Linked DNA regions of Homo sapiens: region 2 is linked to region 1. Evidence: promoter capture Hi-C in 16 types of primary human blood cells and fetal thymus (Javierre and others, 2016). All regions are on one chromosome and are shown on one strand. The core of a region is centred on a gene start or on the middle of the fragment in contact, and the rest is flanking DNA. Distances in the headings are between cores, read along the strand shown.

Region 1 (7,182 bases), core at 2,172-4,671:
TGTCATTGTGAACAAAACATCTTTGCCTTCATGGGGCTAAGTCAGTCATGAACAAACTAATGAAGAAGATTATAAAGAGTGGCAGTGCCTGGAAGGAAATTAACAGGGTGGTGTGAACCAGAGTATGGGGGGCAGTTATCTTAGAGGGAATGGTCAGTGATGTCCCAAGGAGGCAAGAAGATCTATTATATAAAATGCAGTCAATCTTGGGAAAAGCCCAGGGGATAATGCTATGAGTTTAGAGCAGCAAGGACAAGGCTCCAAGGCAGGATCCTGTTCAGAGTGTTAGAAGACAAGAAAGGAGGTCAGGCTAACTGGAGTAGAGCAATCAAAACGGATGGTGCCTCCAGGTGTAGTAAGAGACACAGGCTGAGGCTAGCTCATGCAGGGCCTGATAGGCCAGGGGATGGAGATGAGATTTTACTCTAAATGCAAGAAGCTGCTGGGGAGTTTGAAGCAGGAGGATGGCATAATCCCATTTACATTGTAAAGGTCTACTCAGGCTGCTATGTAACGAATGGATTATACTGAGGCTACAGAGGAAGTGAGGAGGGCAGCCAGGTTATTGTGGTCATCCAGAGCAGCAGTGTGACAGCTTAGTCCAGGATGGTGACACTAGGGATGGACTGACTTGAGACAGGTCTTAGAGGTAGAATGGACAGCTCTTCCTCATACTCAGACCTCTCCTTGGGAACTCCAGCCTTAAAAATCCCCCTGCCTAATCCACACTTCCATCTGGATATCCGATATGCATTTCAAATTTTGCCCAAACCTGGACACTTAATCTACCACCCACAAACCTAGTCTTCTCAACTCCATTCTTGCAGGAGTCATCCTTAGCTCCTTGCTTATCTCACTTCCCACATGCAATCGTGAGTAAATACTGCTAGCTCCATCTTGAAAACATATATCTAGAATTCAACCACCACTTTTCACCAGCTCCACTCACTGGGATTATTGCAATAGCCTCCTAATTGGTCTCCCTCCTTCTGCCCTTTCCCTCCAGTAACCAGCATGCTCCTGTTAAAATGTAAATCAGATAGTGATATTCTTCTCTTCCGCTCAAGCCCTCCAGTGAGATGGCTCAAGCCATCTCAGAATATAATCCTGTTTCTCTCTCTCTCACCCCATTTCCCACTATCTCTTTTACTCACCCTGCTGCAGACATATGAGCCTCCTTGCCATACTTTGAATCTGCCAAACATGGTCCTGCCTCAGGACTTTTGCACATGCTTATCCCTCTATCTGGCCCTACATATCTCCAGGTATCTGCTTCCAATTCTCTTCATTCAGGTCTCTGCTTAAATGTAGCAGAGAGGCCTTCTCTAATCACTCCATAATCTTCATCACTGTGTCTCCCTGCCTTGCTTTTTCTTCATAAGGCTTCTAACCTCCTGGCATCACATACTTCCTTGCTTATTTGTTCATTGTCTATCACCCTGCTTACATTGACAATGTAAGTGCCATGTAAGCAGAGTCTTGGTTTTGTTCATTGCTCTAGCCCCACACTTGGACTGGTACCTGCCACATAATGGATACCTAACAATATGTGGATTTCCGGGTGACCCCCTGCAGCTTGGGTGGGGTGAGGCCAGGACTTTGCTGCCTCTGCCAGGATTTAGAGTTACTGTCACTGCTGCTCCATGATGTAGACTTTACTGAATGAACAAATACAGGTGGGCCCTATGGAGTAAAGCGAGGTGAGTACTTCATGAAGGGAGACCTTCAGCACCACTACCAGCAGCAGAGAAGTGAAGAAGTTAGGACCCCAACAGAGCCCTCTGAGTTTTGTGGGAAGGGAGGACTTCTTAGGGCCCAGAACGGCCAGCTAGAATGCCTTCCAGAAGTTAGTGGGAAAGGCACAAAGATCACTCCTGCTTAAATTTCTGGTTTCCAGGAGGGGAGATCCAGGCAGGGATGTATGGCCAACGGAGATTCCTAGCCAGAGTGCTGAGAGGACTGTGTGAACTGCAGATTCAGGAAGAGGCTGAGAGACCCCCATGGGGGTGGCCGGTATGCTGAGGCTTGTATGGGAGCCAGATATCCCACATCCCATGGGGTGGTTGCCTCCTCCTGTTTCCAGCCTTTCCAGTGAGGCTGCAGGAAAGAGACACAGCTAAGGCCTGGAGACTCGTGGCACTCCGTCAGGGCATGGTACCACAGATGAGTTGTAAGCCTGCGGGACACAGCATCCAACTCTGAAAGCCCCTTGCTCGAATAACCCTACATCACCGCCTGAGGGCTTCCATATCCTTGGTCTCTTCAGACTGTCATCCCCACCACAATTACTCCAAGAAATTACTGTCATCCCCAAATCTATAACTGGAAACTGAGGCTCAGGAAGGAGACATGACTTCCACAAAATCACACAGTTGGGAAACTCTGGAGTCTGCACTCAACTGGTCTGCAAACCGCACTCTCGGAGACTTCAGGTGAGATGAGGTCAGGTTCTCAGGCCAGGTCCTGAAGTTTGACACCTTGGCGAAATGCACTTTCCTTGACTCAGCACCGCGAGTGAGGCGGAGCCAAGCCCCGAGCAGAAGGGTTTTCTTCCCAGCTGAAGAGGCAGCTCAGCCTAGACCCCAGGCATGGCACTGGACACCCCTGCTGTGGAAACGTGCAGATTTAGATGGAGGGGATTCCTAACCTGGGCAGGATCCGAGTTTGGAGAGATTGGCGCGAAGCTTTAGCAGCAATCTCCGATTCCTGTACAACCATAGCTGGGTTTCTAAGCGTCTAGGGAAGAAGGACTGGGCCCACGACCTGCTGAGCAACTCCCAGGTCGGGGACTGGCGGAATATCAGAGCCTCTACGACCCGTTTGTCTCGGGCTCGCCCACTTCAACTCTCGGGGTCTCTCCGCCTGTTGTTGCACTCGTGCGTTTCTCTGCCCCTGACGCTCTAAGCTTTCTGCTTTCTGCGTGTCTCTCAGCCTCTTTCGGTCCCTCTTTCACGGTCTCACTCCTCAGCTCTGTGCCCCCAATGCCTTGCCTCTCTCCAAATCTCTCACGACCTGATTTCTACAGCCGCTCTACCCATGGGTCCCCCACAAATCAGGGGACAGAGGAGTATTGAAAGTCAGCTCAGAGGTGAGCGCGCGCAGCCAGCGTTTCCCGCGGATACAGCAGTCGGGTGTTGGAGAGGTTTGGAAAGGGCGTGCCGGAGAGCCAAGTGCAGCCGCCTAGGGCTGCCGGTCGCTCCCTCCCTCCCTGCCCGGTAGGGGACCTAGCGCGCACGCCAGTGTGGAGGGGCGGGCTGGCTGGCCAGTCTGCGGGCCCCTGCGGCCACCCCGGGGACCCCCCCAAGCCCCGCCCCGCAGTGTTCCTATTGGCCTCGGACTCCCCCTCCCCCAGCTGCCCGCCTGGGCTCCGGGGCGTTTAGGCTACTACGGATAAATAGCCCAGGGCGCCTGGCGAGAAGCTAGGGGTGAGGAAGCCCTGGGGCGCTGCCGCCGCTTTCCTTAACCACAAATCAGGCCGGACAGGAGAGGGAGGGGTGGGGGACAGTGGGTGGGCATTCAGACTGCCAGCACTTTGCTATCTACAGCCGGGGCTCCCGAGCGGCAGAAAGTTCCGGCCACTCTCTGCCGCTTGGGTTGGGCGAAGCCAGGACCGTGCCGCGCCACCGCCAGGATATGGAGCTACTGTCGCCACCGCTCCGCGACGTAGACCTGACGGCCCCCGACGGCTCTCTCTGCTCCTTTGCCACAACGGACGACTTCTATGACGACCCGTGTTTCGACTCCCCGGACCTGCGCTTCTTCGAAGACCTGGACCCGCGCCTGATGCACGTGGGCGCGCTCCTGAAACCCGAAGAGCACTCGCACTTCCCCGCGGCGGTGCACCCGGCCCCGGGCGCACGTGAGGACGAGCATGTGCGCGCGCCCAGCGGGCACCACCAGGCGGGCCGCTGCCTACTGTGGGCCTGCAAGGCGTGCAAGCGCAAGACCACCAACGCCGACCGCCGCAAGGCCGCCACCATGCGCGAGCGGCGCCGCCTGAGCAAAGTAAATGAGGCCTTTGAGACACTCAAGCGCTGCACGTCGAGCAATCCAAACCAGCGGTTGCCCAAGGTGGAGATCCTGCGCAACGCCATCCGCTATATCGAGGGCCTGCAGGCTCTGCTGCGCGACCAGGACGCCGCGCCCCCTGGCGCCGCAGCCGCCTTCTATGCGCCGGGCCCGCTGCCCCCGGGCCGCGGCGGCGAGCACTACAGCGGCGACTCCGACGCGTCCAGCCCGCGCTCCAACTGCTCCGACGGCATGGTAAGGCCGGGACCCCAGGAAGTGAGGAAGTTAGGGCGGCGCTCGGGATATCAGGGACGCGTTTCCGAGGGCGGGGAGCTGGCCTTGCGGGAGGTTTGGGCCAGGATCCTTCCCGAGAGAGAGGACCCCCTTGTCCTGGGCAGCTGTCACTGGGGTAGCCTGTTTTGGAAGTGTGCGGGCAAGCGTTCGAGCTGCCCCATTGGGGGCGCTATTAGAACACTGCAGCGCGAACGTGAAGATCTTTTTCTCTACTTATCCCTACTTCCAAAATGTAAATTTGCGCCCCTTGGTGACTGTCCGCCCTTGGTTTGGCCCTGCATGTTGCAGACCTCATCTCCTACCCACCCGTAATTACCCCCCCAACCAGGACAGGTCTGGGCCCGGAACTAGAGCCTTAGGCTAGAGTTAGGGAGGGGGCGGCTACAGGAATTGGTGTTCGGGCCTCGAGCCGTCCCGCGGGCCTGACTCAGTCGCCCTTGCTGTTTGCAGATGGACTACAGCGGCCCCCCGAGCGGCGCCCGGCGGCGGAACTGCTACGAAGGCGCCTACTACAACGAGGCGCCCAGCGGTGGGTATTCCGGGCCTCTCCCTGCTCGCTCCTCCTCCTTCATGGAGCTGTCCTGGCCTCTATCTAGGACGCTCCCACCCCCACTCACACACGCCTATGTCCTGGGAAGTGGTGCAGGAGATGAAATACTAAGCAAGTAGCTCCCTGTCTTTTGGATTGTCCCGGACTCTAACTAAAGTCCTCAGTTTCCAATCTGTCTCAAAGTACTGGGCCCGGGGGTGGGAGGCTTGTCGCGGCCCCACCCCTGCTTACTAACCGAGCCCTCCCCGCGCAGAACCCAGGCCCGGGAAGAGTGCGGCGGTGTCGAGCCTAGACTGCCTGTCCAGCATCGTGGAGCGCATCTCCACCGAGAGCCCTGCGGCGCCCGCCCTCCTGCTGGCGGACGTGCCTTCTGAGTCGCCTCCGCGCAGGCAAGAGGCTGCCGCCCCCAGCGAGGGAGAGAGCAGCGGCGACCCCACCCAGTCACCGGACGCCGCCCCGCAGTGCCCTGCGGGTGCGAACCCCAACCCGATATACCAGGTGCTCTGAGGGGATGGTGGCCGCCCACCCGCCCGAGGGATGGTGCCCCTAGGGTCCCTCGCGCCCAAAAGATTGAACTTAAATGCCCCCCTCCCAACAGCGCTTTAAAAGCGACCTCTCTTGAGGTAGGAGAGGCGGGAGAACTGAAGTTTCCGCCCCCGCCCCACAGGGCAAGGACACAGCGCGGTTTTTTCCACGCAGCACCCTTCTCGGAGACCCATTGCGATGGCCGCTCCGTGTTCCTCGGTGGGCCAGAGCTGAACCTTGAGGGGCTAGGTTCAGCTTTCTCGCGCCCTCCCCCATGGGGGTGAGACCCTCGCAGACCTAAGCCCTGCCCCGGGATGCACCGGTTATTTGGGGGGGCGTGAGACCCAGTGCACTCCGGTCCCAAATGTAGCAGGTGTAACCGTAACCCACCCCCAACCCGTTTCCCGGTTCAGGACCACTTTTTGTAATACTTTTGTAATCTATTCCTGTAAATAAGAGTTGCTTTGCCAGAGCAGGAGCCCCTGGGGCTGTATTTATCTCTGAGGCATGGTGTGTGGTGCTACAGGGAATTTGTACGTTTATACCGCAGGCGGGCGAGCCGCGGGCGCTCGCTCAGGTGATCAAAATAAAGGCGCTAATTTATACCGCCGTGGCTCCGGCTTTCCCTGGACATGGGTGTGGGATCCGGAGGAAAATCCGCAAACTGGGCCAGCTGTCCCTCAGCGACGCCTGTAGGCGGCAGGCGGATTGCAAGGAGGAAGCCTGCTGCCTGGGGAAGGAAGGAGGGGTGCAAATTTCTCCAGTACGTGAGGAAGTTCCTCTGACCTTGACTACATTACTACACACGTCCGTGGCTCTTATGGAAGGGTACACAGGTTGATATGAGTATTTTTTAAACCCATGTCTGAGCTCGCCCCCTAGATATTCTGATTTAATGTTTCTGCCCCATATACCCAGGGCCAGGTATTGGTATTTTTTTTCAAAAGCTCCCCAAGTGATTCTGAAGTTCATTCAAGGCTGAGAATCATCCCCTCCATATAAAGTGAGTGAACCCAGGTGTGATAACCAGAAGAACCACGGGAAGGTTGTGGCCCAGGCATCACTTGGGGGCCTCGTTGGGTATAGAGGATGTGATAGGGTGCCCACAGCATTCCGAGGAAGATCTAAATGAGTGTAGACATGTGCTGTAAGCTCTCTGGCACTTACAGCCCATTAGTAATAGGTGTAACTGCAAAGAGATAGCATAGAAGGCCAGACAGGCACAGACACCTCTACCCAGCACCTAGAGCATCCCGACACTATCAGATTCCATAAGACAACAGGAGCCCGGATCCTGTGAGCAGAGCGGCATGTGGGCCAGCATCATCACAGATGGCATAGGTACTCTTCATCAGGCTATAAACTCTCTGAGAGCAGAGGAGGGGGCATTTATTTAGCCTGAGTGTTGGGGAGGGCTTCCCGGAAGAGTTGTCATTTGAGCTCTGTCTTAAGAAACAAGAGTAGACAATGTACTCACAATGCACACACACACACACGCACACACACACACACAGGTACCTGTGCCCTCCCCTGGGTCCAAGGCCCCTGAGGGATGGTCTGGCAAGGGTTCTTCCCCACTCACTTACCACCTCCCCACCCCCAACACACGCGTGCCATGAGGACCTCAGGACCTCCTACATCCCACCCCATATATGTTGTTCCTGAAAACCCTACAGGCCCACTTTCAAGGGTTTTGTTTGCCAAGTAGGGGGCCCTCAGGAATGCAGGCAAGATGTGATGCCAGAAGGAATATCCGAATATCCTCATTACCTGTCTGAGGATCCATTCTCTGCTCTCCCCAACAC
Region 2 (7,182 bases), core at 1,283-3,782, 98 kb before region 1:
TAATATGTATATCTAAGATGTATCTTTTTTAATCCTTTTACTTTAACCTGTTTGTGGCTTTTTATTTAAAGTGGGATTTTTGGCCGGCATGTAGGCTCATGCCTGTAATTTCACTTTGGGAGGTTGAAGCAGGTGGACTGCTTGAGCCCAGGAGTTCGAGACCAGCCTGGGCAATATGGCAAAACACAATCCCTACTAAAAATATATATATTAAAAAATTAGCCAAGCATGGTGGCACATGCCTGTAGTTCCAGCTATGCAGGAGGCTGAGGTGGGAGAATCACCTGGGCCCAGGAAGTTGAGGCTGCAGTGAGCCGTGATTGCACGACTGCACTCCAGCCTGGGTGACAGGAGTGAGGCCCTGTCTCAACAAACAAACAAACAAATAAAAGTGGGACTTTTGCAGGGGGTAAATAGTTGAGCCTTCAGTTTTTAAAGATCCAATCTGACAATCTCTTCCTTTTAATTGGGGATGTTTATACCATTTATGTTTAATTTGGTCCTCAACATAGTGATGTTTATATATTGTTGCTATTTATTTTCTATTTGTGACATCTGTTCTTTGTTCCCTCCTTCCTTTTTTTGCCTTCTTTGGATTGTTTTTAATGACTCCATTTCATCTCCAATGTTGGATTATTGTCTGTACTTTTTTTTTCTCCTTCAGTGGTTGCTTTAGATATTACAGTATGTAATTTTACTTTGTCACAGACTAGCTACAAATAATATTATATTGCATCATATATACCATAAGAACTTTATAACAGTATACTGCTATTTCCTTTCACCAAGCCTTTGTGTTATTGTCATAAAATTTACTTCTATAATTATTATAAACTCCACAGTAAATTGTTATTATTTTTCCTTAAGCAGTTATCTTCTAAAGAGATTTTTAAAACAAGGAAAGTTTATATTTAACCACATATTTACCATTTTGTGCTTTTTATTCCTTTGTGTAAATCTAGATTTGCATCTGGTATCATTTTTCTTCTGCTCGAAAGACTTCCTTTAACACTTATGTAGTACAGATCTACTGGTGATAAATTCTTTCAGCTTTTGTTTGTCAGAAAAAGTCTTGGTCTTTCCTTCATTTTTAAGAGATACTTTCACTGGGTATAGAATTATAGGCTGATATTTTTTTCTTTCAGTACTTTATAAGACGTTGCTCCTGTCTTTTTTTTATTGAGGAGAAATTGACAAAACATAAAATTAAGCATTTTAAAGTGAACAATTCAATGGCATTTAGTACATTCACAATATTGTGCAACCATTGCCTCTGTATAGCTCCAAAACATTTTCATCACCCCAAAAGGCAACCCCATACCCATTAAGCAGTTTCTTCATAGTCACCTCTCCCCACAGCCCCTGCCAACTACCAATCTGCCTGTTGCCTCTGGATTTACCTATTCTGAATATTTCATATAAGTGGAGTCAGACAATATCTGACCTTTTGTGTCTGGCTTCTTTTACTGAGCTCCATGTTTTGGGGGTTCATCCACATTGAAGCATGTATCAATGCTTCATTTATTTTTATGGCTGGAATAATATTCCATTGTATGTATATACCACAGTTTGTTTATCCATTCATTATTGATGGGCATTTAAGCTATTTCCATATTTTTGGCTATTTTGAATAGTGCTGTTATGAAGTTCCACTATCTTTTATCTTGCTTATTTCTGGTAAGAAATCTGCTGTCATTCTTTGTTCCTTCATACATAATGTAGTTTTTTTCTACCCCTTTTTGCTGCTTTTATGATTTTCCTTCTATAGTTGTTTTTAAGCAATTTGGTTATGATAGGCCTGGTAATTCATTTCTCTTTTGGGGACTTCAATTACATGTGTTTTAGGATACTTGAAGTGGACCCACAGATCACTTATGCTCTCTGCTCATCATTCTCTTGGGTCTTTTTTAATTCTGTGCTTCATTTCAGATAGTATTTATTGCTCTAAGTTCATTAATCTTTTCATTTATAGTGTCTAAACATATTAATTCCATTCAGTGGTTTTCATCTCAGACATGATATTTTTCATCTGCACAAGTTTGATTTGGGTCTTTTTATATCATGAACATCTCACCTTCTTCTGTTTTCCTCTATTTCTTGAGCACATATAGTTAAAACAATTTTAAAAATAATTGTTTGTATTTCCTTGTCTACCGTGTGTGTCATTTCTCAGTCAGTTCTGATTGATTTTTTCTTTCATTATAGGTTGTATTTTCCTGCTTCTTTGCATGCCTGACAATGTTTTTAAATTGAATTCCAGACATTGTGAGTTTTGCCTTGTTGGATGCTGGATATTCTTTCATTTTATTTTTGAAAATATTCTTGAGCTTTGTAGTAGTTATGCTACTTGGAAACAGTTTGATCCTTCTGAGGCTTGCCTTTAAGCTTTGTTAGGTAAAGCCAAAGTAGCCTTTATTCTGAGTGTGATTTTATTCTTTATCCTACATACCAATTCCCTGCTACTAAAGCAACACCCTTCTGCATACCCTACCCTATACTCTACATATTAGGAGGTTTTTCTACTATTCTCAGCCCTGTGCTAGCTCTGTGGATTTTTCTGTCTGTTTCTCTCAGGTGGTTCTTTCCCTAGTCTCAGGTAGTTTTCTCACCTGCATACATTGATCAATATTCAGCTGAAAATTCAGGACAGGGTCAGGACAGGGTTGGAGGGGGATTCTGCAAAGCTTCAGAGCTCTCTCTCTCTCTCTCTCTGTCTGCCATGCAAACTCTAGCTACCTTGGCCTTTGTGAATGTCTATCTCTTGTCTTCTAAACTCTAGGAAACCACCAGGCTCTACCTGGGTTCCTGCTCCCTGCACTGCAGCCCCTAAACTCTCTAAGTAATAACCTTGGACAATCATAAGGCTTGCCTCATTTGTTTCCATTTTTTGTTTTCAGGGATCACTCTCCTGCATTGCCAACTGTTCACGTTGGAAAACTGTTGTTTTATATATTTTGTCAGTTTGTTTGATCATTTAAGGCAAGAGGGTAAATCCAGTTCCTATTACTCCACCTTGGTTAGAAATGGAATTCTAAGTCCTTCGTTTTTAACCTTTTATTCTTTGTCCTTGCATGGAGTCCTATGAATGCAGGCGAGGCTCCTCTCTGGGCTTCAGGTATGTATGTTTACTCCCAGAACTCAGAGACTGCTCATGGATCATGAAGCCCAATCCTCTGTCTGTACAAATAGGAAGGCTCAGGCTAGGAGAGCCAGGGGCTTTCCTAGGGTCACAAAGTTTTCTTTGTGACTCCTGGGCTGAGGCTCCCTCTACATAATAGTTCATGTGCTGCATAATTTGCTGCATAAAACAGTCTAATCCTTTTTTAATTTTTAATTTTTATGGGTAGATAGTAGGTATATATATTTGTGGGGTACATAAGAGATTTTGACACAGGCATTCAATGTGTAATAATCACATCACGTAAAATGGGATATCCCTCCCCTCAAACATTTATCCTTTGTGTTACGAACAATCTAATTATATACTCATTTATTTATCTTTAAATGTATAATTAAATTACTATTGACTGTAGTCACCCTGTTGTGCTATCAAACACTAAGTCTTACTCATTCTTTTTAATTTTTCTTTTTACTCATTAATCATTCCCATCTCTTCCTCAACCCCTCCACTACCCTTCCCCTGTGTCCGTGAGTTCAATTGTCTTGGTTTTTAGATCCCACACTTGAGTGAGAACATGTTAGGTTTGTCTTTCTGTGCCTGCTTATTTCATTTAACATAATGACCTCCATTTTCACCCATGTTTTTGTAAATGACAGAATCTCATATTATTGTGGCTGAATAGTACTCCATTGTGTATAAGTACCACATTTTCTTTATCCATTCATCTGCTGATGGACATTTACATTGCTTCCAAATCTTAGCTATCGTGAACAGTGCTGCAACAAACATGGGAGTGCAGATATCACTTCGATATACGGATTTCCTTTCTTTTGGGTGTATACCCAGATTGCTGGATCATATGGTAGCTCTATTTTTAGTGTTTTGAGGAACCTCCAAACTGTTCTCCATAGTGGAGAACTAATTTACATTCCCACCAAAAGTGTGAGGGTTCCCTTTTCTCCACATCCTCACCAGCATTTGTTATTTCCTGTCTTTTGGATAAAAGCCATTTTAAGTGGAGCGAGATGATTTCTCATTATAGTTTTGATTTGCATTTCTCTGATGATCCATGTAAGAACATTTTCATATGCCTGTTTGCCATTTGGATGTCTTATTTTTTATTTTATTTTATAACTTTTAAGTTCAGGGGTACATGTGCAGGTTTCTTATATAGATAAACTCATATCGCAGGAGTTTGTTGTACAGATTATTTTGTCACCCAGGTATTAAGCCTAGTACTCATTAGTTATTTTTTGATATTCTCTTTCCTCCCACCTGACACCCTCCAGTACACCCCAGTATCTGTTGTTCCCCTCTACCTGTCCATGTGCTCTCATCATTTAGCTCCCACTTATCAGTGAGAACATGCAGTATTTGGTTTTCTGTTTTTGCATTAGTTTGCTAAGGATAATGGCCTCCATCTCCATCCATGTTTCTGCAGAGGACATGATCTCATTCTTTTTTATGGCTGCATAGTATTCCATGGTGTGTATATACTACATTTTCTTTATCCAGTCTACCATTGATGGACATTTAGGTTGATTCCATGTCTTTGCTATTGTGAGTAGTGCTACCATGAATATATGTGTGCAGGTGTGTTTATGATAGAATAATTTATATTCCTCTGGGTATATACCCAGTAATGGGATTGCTGGGTCAAATGGTAGTTGTGTTTTTAGGTCTTTGAGGAATCATCACACTGTTTTCCACAATGGTTGAACTAATTTATACTCTCACCAACAATGTGTAAGTGTTCCTTTTTCTCTACAACCTTGCTAGCACCTGTTATTTTTTGGCTTTTTAGTAATAGCCATTCTGACTGGTGTGAGATGGTATCTCATTGCTGTTTTGATTTGCATTTTTCTAATGATCAGTGATGTTGAGCTTTTTTCATATGCTTATTGGCTGAATGTATGTCTTCTCTTGAGAAGTGTCTGTTCATGTCCTTTGCCCAGTTTTTAATGGGGTAGTTTGTTTGTTGTTGTTTTCTTATAAATTTGTTTAAGTTCCTTATAGATACTGGATGTAAGATCTTTGTCAGATGTATAGTTTGCAAAAATTTTTCCCATTCTGTAGGTTATCTGTTTACTCTGTTGATAGTTTCTTTTGCTGTGTAGAAGCTCTTTAGTTTAATTAGATCCCATTTGTCAATTTTTGCTTTTGTTGCAATTTCTTTTGGTATCATTGCCATGAAATCTTTGCCGTTTCTGTGTCCAGAATGGTATTGCCTAGGTTATCTTCCATGATTTTTATAGTTTTGGCTCTTACATTTAAGTCTTTAATCTATCTTAAGTTAATATTTGTATATGGCGTAAGGAAGGGGTCCCATTTCAATCTTCTGCATATGGCTAGCCATTTATCCCAGTAGCATCTATTGAATAGAGAGTACTTTACCTATTGCTTGTTTTTGGTGACTTTGTAGAAGATCAGACAGCTGTAGGTGTCTGGCCTTATTTCTGGGCTCTGTATTCTGTTCCATTGGTCTATGTGCCTGTTCTTGTACCAGTACTATGCTGTTTTAGTTACTGTAGCCGTGAAGTATAGTTTGAAGTTGAGTAGCATGATGCCTCCAGCTTTGTTCTTTTTGCTTAGGATTGCCTTGGCTATTCGGGCTCATTTTTGGTTCCATATGAATTTTAAAATAGTTTTTTTTTCTAGTTCTGTGAAGAATGTCATTGGTAGTTTGATAGGAAGAGCATTGAATCTATCAATTGCTTTGGGCAGTATGGCCATTTTAACAATATTGATTCTCCCTATCAATGAGCATGGACAGTTTTTCCATTTGTTTGTGTCATCTGTGATTTATTTGAGCAGTGTTTTGTAGTTCTCCTTGTAAAGATCTTTCACCTCCCTGGTTAGCTGTATTCCTAGGTATTGGATTCTTTTCGTGGCAATTGTGAATAAGATTGCCTTCCTGATTTGGCTCTCGGCTTAGCTATTGTTGGTATATAGGAATACTAGTGATTTCTATACATTGATTTTGTATCTTGAGACTTTGCTGAAGTTGTTTATCAGCTGAAGGAGCTTTTGGGTTGGAACTATGGGGTTTTCTAGATATAGGATCATGTTGTCTGCAAACAGGGATAGTTTGACTTCCTCTCTCCCTATTTGGAGGTCCTTTATTTCTTTCTCTTGCCTGATTGCTCTGGCCAGGACTTCCAATACTATGTTGAATAGGAGTGGTGAGAGCGGGCATCCTTGTCTTGTGCCAGTTTTCAAGTGGAATGCTTCCAGGTTTTGTCCATTCAGTGTTGTTGGCTGTGGGTTTGTCATAGACGGCTCTTATTATTTTGAGGTATGTTCCTTTAACACGTAGTTTATTGAGAGTTTTAAATATGAAGCGGTGTTGAGTTTTACCAAAAGCCTTTTCTGCACCTATTGAGATAATTCTTGGTTTTTGTCTTTAGTTCTGTTTATGTGATGAATCATATTTACTGATTTGTATATGTTGAACCAACATTGCCTCCCAGAGATAAAGCCTACTTGATCGTGGTGAATAAGCTTTTTGATATGCCACTGGATCCAGTTTGCCAATATTTTATTGAGGATTTTTGCATCACTGTTCATGTCTTCTTTTGAGAAATGTCTATTTCAAATTTTTTGTGCATTTTTAAATCAGATTATTAGATTTTTTTCCTATAGAGTTGTTTGAGGTCCTTATATATTCTAATTATTAATCCCTCATCAGATGTATGGTTTGCAAATATTTTCTCCCATTCTATGGGTTGTCTCTTCACTTTGTCGATTGTTTCCTTTGCTGTGCAGAAGCTTTTTAACTTGATGTGATCCCATTTGTCCATTTTGCTTTGGTTGCCTGTGCTTTTGGGGTATTATTCAAGAAATTTTTGCCCAAACCAATGTCCTGGAGAGTTTCCCCAGTGCTTTCTTGTAGTGGTTTTATAGTTTGAGGTCTTAGATTTAAGTCTTTAATCCATTTTGATTTGATTCTCATATATGGTGAGAGATAGGGGTCTAGTTTTATTCTTCTGCATACAGATATCCAGTTTCCCCAGCACCACTTATTGAAAAGACTGTCTTTTCCCCAATGTATGTTCTTGGCA

What was found. The method cuts DNA at HindIII sites, captures the fragments that hold promoters and counts their contacts. A CHiCAGO score of 5 or more calls a contact.
Region 2: a contact is called between a fragment that was not itself captured here and the fragment with the promoter of MYOD1 in region 1, in 1 of 17 cell types (endothelial precursors). The highest score is 5.2, in endothelial precursors.

Annotation. Positions count from the first base shown.
Region 1 is chr11:17,716,150-17,723,331 of GRCh38, forward strand. It overlaps MYOD1 (myogenic differentiation 1), which reads left to right and starts at 3,422. Exons shown (of 3, transcript NM_002478.5): 1 at 3,422-4,263; 2 at 4,753-4,831; 3 at 5,106-5,987. The coding sequence starts at 3,634. The coding sequence ends at 5,359. RefSeq lists enhancers at 4,371-4,882, 4,883-5,394. The HindIII fragment of the contact is 6,670 bases long and covers 2,904-7,182 here.
Region 2 is chr11:17,618,904-17,626,085 of GRCh38, forward strand. All of the region lies in intron 39 of OTOG (otogelin), which reads left to right. Among named protein-coding and RNA genes, the nearest start is that of LINC02729, 74 kb to the right of the region's middle. The HindIII fragment of the contact is 299 bases long and covers 2,384-2,682 here.